Regions from separate parts of the Homo sapiens genome. Here region 2 is linked to region 1. Evidence: promoter capture Hi-C in human tissues and cell types (Jung and others, 2019). All regions are on one chromosome and are shown on one strand. Each heading gives the region's core, a stretch centred on a gene start or on the middle of the fragment in contact. The rest is flanking DNA. Distances are from core to core; before and after follow the strand shown. Region 1 holds the start of GRIN2B (glutamate ionotropic receptor NMDA type subunit 2B). Region 2 overlaps GRIN2B (glutamate ionotropic receptor NMDA type subunit 2B).

The links. Contacts are between HindIII fragments. The study calls those that stand out against the background at their distance.
Region 2: a fragment that was not itself captured here is called in contact with the fragment with the promoter of GRIN2B in region 1 in 3 of the 25 tissues and cell types used here (liver, mesendoderm cells and pancreas).

The regions. Positions count from the first base shown.
Region 1 is chr12:13,980,297-13,982,996 of GRCh38, reverse strand. GRIN2B (glutamate ionotropic receptor NMDA type subunit 2B) reads left to right here and starts at 1,395. Exons shown (of 14, transcript NM_000834.5): 1 at 1,395-1,655; 2 at 2,641-2,700. The HindIII fragment of the contact is 12,156 bases long and covers 1-2,700 here.
Region 2 is chr12:13,857,644-13,860,343 of GRCh38, reverse strand. The region is part of intron 3 of GRIN2B (glutamate ionotropic receptor NMDA type subunit 2B); the gene reads left to right. Among named protein-coding and RNA genes, the nearest start is that of GRIN2B, 120 kb to the left of the region's middle. The HindIII fragment of the contact is 9,169 bases long and covers 1-2,700 here.

The DNA.
Region 1 (2,700 bases), core at 146-2,645:
AGGACAGCAAAAACATATCTGATGGCTTCTACAGACTAAAGTTCCAAGCCACTAGGTATATCCACTCACACAGCCTTCTCTCCTGTGCGTTTGTATGGCCGCTTCTCAGGAATGCTGGTGAGAAGCCCATGATATAACCAATATGAAAATGTTCCACCACTGTAGTATTCTAGATATTTGAAAAGACAATGGATGAGAATGAAAATGATGCATATACAATAATATTAATGTTAAAAGTAAACAATACTACAGGTGGTGATAAGGGCTATTAAAATATAAAAGAGTTCAATAGGAAGAGAAATGAATGGATGTTTGCCTTTTCAAAGAGGGTGGGTTTGTAAATGCCAGGAAATCCAGTTTCCTTTAGGGATTATTCACGGGCCTCACCATCTTCTCTTCTCAAGGCATTTAAATAACAGGATCCACTTTAATAAAAAATGTCAAACTCCTCCCGCCTTCACTAGCAGCCAGAAAAGCACGCGTATGGTCCATACTATACAATTTAGCCACGAATGACACCTGCTTTGCTTTGTTTTCTATTGTGTTAGGCGTCAGCCTCGTGTGCTCAGATAGATCTTAAGCTCCTTGAAGGCAAGAAAGAACCCGGTCCCAGACTGCGTCCGACACACAGAATGCTCGTAGGAAGCACAGGCTGATTTATGGAAAATACAGCAAGGGTCTTCAATTTCGAACTACAGCTCCGCCTTGGAGATGCTTTCCGCAGCCCGCGGGCCGCCCACGGGGGGCACTGTCTAGCTCCCCTCGCCCCTCAGCCGCTCTCCGTCGGTGCTGTTCCCCGCTGCGGCCGGGAGGAGGCGCCACGGACTCGGGCTAAGCTTCTTCCCCCTTCCGTCCCCCTTCCATCCACCTTACCACCCCACTTCCCCAGCACATGACGTGGGAAGCTGCCTCCGCCAGAGTCTTAGCAAGAGGAGTGAGGGGGTGCAGGGGCTTGGGGGTGGGGTGGGGTGGGGGGTGTGGAGAAAGAGGACACGCGCGCTCACACCCGCCCCTGGGAGCAGAAGCAGTATCTTCCCCAGCTTCGTGGGTTTCTCCTCCCCCCGGAGTCAGGGTGTGCGAGGTAGGGGGTGTGTGTGTGTCTGTGTGTGTGTGCGCGGCACGTTTTTGAGTGTGAGACCCAAATCCAGACCAGGCAACCTGCGTTCCCCGCGCCTCCCCCCGTCCCCGGTGATTAATACCCATTTTTCTGACGCTCCCCTCCTCCCCTCCTGCTCTCCCTCTCCGGCTGCCGCGCGGTTGACTTGCACAGCCTGCCCCCGCCCGCTTCCCTTCCCCCGGCTCCGATCCTCACCAACTGGAATCTGGGCTCCTGCCTCTCCACCCCCCACCTCTTTTTGAGAAAGGAAGGTTCCCCCCACCCCCTTTCAAAAACCACTTCCTCCGGCTTCTTCACCTCTAGGAAATCTCGGGGCTTCGCTCTATCGAGAGTGCTCGTCAAGGGTGATTCTTGATCACCACCATCCAGTAGTGCTGGCGTCCGAATGCATATCCTTTTGCCTTGCAAAGAAGAGTCATGAACTTCAAAACCCCCGAGACGGATCATTAATCCTGCTTTGCAGGAAAGGAAAACCCTCCATTCCCAGCCACCGGCCACCCCTCTCCGCAGACTGCAACCGCGGAGGCGCTCGGAGCCGGTACGTAAAGATGGGCTTTGGAGTCTCTCCTTTGAATGTAGGGGTTTGGGGGTGTCAGGCAGATAAAGGGTCGAAGCCGTGAAATCGTGAACGAATCTGGCATGAGGTAAAGCTCTGAAATCCAGCAGAACCCGGCACTTGCTAATTTGGACGTGGCTTTTTTAAAGGTTTTTTTTTTTTGTGGGGGAGGGGGTGCTGTGACTGGGTAGGGCTGTCTCTGGTCTTTTGGGGGGTTTCATCCCTTCACCTAGCAGAGGGGCAGGGCAGCGGCGCCCCGGGCCGGACCCACGCGCCGAGCCCATCCGTCCAATCGACACGTTGCAGGTGAAGCCCCGTGCGCTGCACCTCAGCGCGGCGGCAGCGTGAGTGTGCGCGGGGGTGAGTGTGCGCGGGGGTGAGTGTGAGTGCGCGCGGGGCGCGTGCGCGTCGGGGGCGTGTGTGCGCGCGTCAGTGTGCCCCTTCCAAGAAATGCCCAGTGTGCACCCCGTGCACAATCAGAACCCATTCAGCACAAGCCCGGGGTGGGAGGCGGCGCTGCTGCTGGAGGCGATGGGGAGAGCGAGCGAGACAAGTCAGCAGCAATGCAGATGGGGCTGGGGGCCGCACTCGCTGGCGAGTTAAGTGGGAATTGTGTTTCTGCGTGTGTGTGAGTGTGTGTTGCTGTATGGTGCCGCTTCTCCCCCCCTTCCTCCTTCCTTCCCACTTCCCTCCTTCGCTCGCTCCCTCCCTCTCTCCTCTTCCATTCAGGTTGGCTTTCCCACCTCTCATCCGTGCCTGTCCCAGGAATGGTATAGCCAGACCTTTTCTGAATTATTTATAGACCGGTACCAGCTGTTTTCAATTCCTCTCGTGTGCACTCTGTGGGAAATGCGGGGTTTCCTCCCCCCTTTCCTTAAAACGAATTGATATCTTTTTCGGAATGCATTTTTCTCACCCTCCGGGGGACACGCGAATCAAGCCCTGACCGCCTCTTTTTCCCCCTTAGGAAGGGGACGCTTTGGGAATGACCATGCTCCACCGAGGGACGGAGCCGGCCCCCAGCTTC
Region 2 (2,700 bases), core at 80-2,579, 120 kb after region 1:
AATAAAATAAAATAAATAATAAATTGCTTCTTTGGGAATGGATGCTTTCAATAGCACTTTTCATTTTCTGTACTGAGAGCCACATTTTGGAATCTAATTGGGGATAGGAAGATGGCCCTACTCTTCTTTGGCTTCATCCTCTGGCCCTCTTCCCCTATCCTCTACCCCCACTTGCTTAATGACAGTGGGTTTGGAGAGAGTAGATGGGCTGGCAGTGGTGTGTGACACTGGGAGTAGACTATTGCCTTCCCTTGGCTCATATGGATTTGCATATCCAACATAATCTTGAAACCAAGATGGCTACATGTTACTCATGCCTTACCCTACGCTTCTTCACTAATTTCTGGTGTCTGTTAGATTGTTACCTTGCTTTTAGTTGTCTGTGATATAATATTCCTCGGGACAGAATACTTTGGGAGAAAACTGTAATGTTATGGCATTTCTTGGATGAAGGGTATTAAGACATAGAGGTAGGAAAAGTGAGAGGAAAAAAACTAACATAATATGTCAATTTTGAACCAGGCATGATGTTAATGAGCATTTTAATTCTTATGCAATCCCATGAGGGAAGTAGTAGTATTTCTTCTTTCTTGATGGGGAAACTAAATCAGAGAGCGTTTATGTATGTTGGCCAAAGTCACACATCTACAACAATAGTGGGACTGAAATCTGAATTCAGACATGCTTGACTTTAAGACTTTTTCCCAGTGCATACGATGAGGGAGTAAGAAAAAAAAGCCAGGACAAAATTACCTGGAGTTCAGTTTCTTCTCTCCAATTTTCCCTACTTGAACTATATTTTGGGGAAAGATGGGTAGGCAGTGCTCTCTAAGGCACTGGAAACTTTGTAGTGATGTAGCTCTGTCTGGCTGGCTCTTTCCACCTGCTTCTGTGAAATGTGTTTCTTGTTGGCCAGCACATCCTGTCTTTAAAAATTGGAGCTAGGATTTTCTTTAGGAGCAGTGTTAATGCTTGTAACAATTGAAGCCCAGAAATTGCTTCGACATTCATAGAAATACAGGCACTTGGTGCTGGAAAGTAACACACCAGCCATCACTTGTCATACATTTTCCAGGGACGTGATGGTGTCTAAAAGAAGGTACCAGCACAAGGAGAGAATGCAGACTTTGGAGTCAATGGGCTTGAGCTCTATTCATTCTCAGCCATGTGACCTTAGTTGGACTCTTCAGACTCTCTGAGCCTCAAAATCTCCTTCTGTAAAGTGAAAACAAAAATAACACCCAGCTTATAAAGGGTAGCAAGCCTTATGACGCAATGTACCCAGTGCATGGTAGACAGTTGGTGCTTAGTATATGCCATCTTGCATTCTCAAAAACCAGACTTGTCCTAAATCACTTGAGGAAAATGGATTCTAATTTTTCCTATTAACAGAAATAGAAGATTTGGGGATGTTAACCTGCTTCCATTTAGACATGGTGGATAAACAACAGCTCAGTAGGTTCCACCTCTTTGGTGATGCAATTACTGATATTGACTTGATCAGAACTTATCAGGATTTTCAAAGCAGAGACATAAAGTGATTTCAACAAACTGATACACATAGGATATAAGCATTAAAGACAAGTCAAGATCATTTTCTAAAAACATAACGGAATAAAATAGTGTTTGAATCAGAGTCACTCATAGATTTGGAAGTGTTAATATGTTAAAAAAAAGTGAATTATTACATGAAGAAAATATTCGTGGTACTAGGTGGGAAGTAGTAAAATGTTACAGATACAAGAAAACATAAATTTACTAAATATTGCCAGCCAATTTTTACATCACATTGATATTGCTGAAAAAAACTCCCTGAATTATGAGTTCTATACAAAGAGTATATTTTTAGTCCCCTTTCTGAGACTTCTGTGATTCTTTTTGTCTTACTGTTAGATCTACATTTTATTCAAAATTGTATTTTGATTCTGTAGTTTAAAGGTCTAGCATGCAGGAGAGTAACATTAAAGGTGGTTATTTTTATTCTACCTTTCTGAGTACAATAAAGGTTTATTGCTATAATTCTATTTTACACGGACAAAGAAGATCTAATTATTGTAAGTTATTTTGAGGTTATGATGAGAAAGACTGACACTGATCATTTATTTTTTGTCAAACTCTGAGTTAGTCACTTTATATGAGCTAGTCATCTTATATATTTTATCTCATTTAATGTTTTCATTGAATTTAGAAGGCACATATTTTATCTTTATTTTAGAGACAAGGAAACTATAGATCAGAGAGGTTAACTATGTTGTCCAATACCTTTAGGTAGTGATTTGCTCACCGTAGCTTAAACAAATGAGTCTGTGGGTGTCTCAGAACAAAGAGTCTAGAGACAGAGGCTGCTGGGGGTGGTTCACTGGCTCAGTGATGTCAGTACTGACATCTGGGGTTCGCCTGGCATTTTGTCATGGTTGGAAGGTGGCTGCTCCAGCGTTAGTCATCCATCATGCTCATACTTAACGAAGGAAGAAGAAGTGGGTTGGTATTGGATTAGAAGAAGTCTTCCCCACATCCTTGATTTCATGAGCCCAAACAATGTCACATGGGCAACTCTGTGGACGTTGCAAGTCTCTCTGGTGGAGGTGACAAGGGGGGAAAGGAGTGGGAATGGCTTTGGGGCTAGTCAACAGACAGTGTAGTCAACAGACAGTGTAGTACACTGTGTCTCAAAGGAAGTGACATCCTGGGAATTCAACC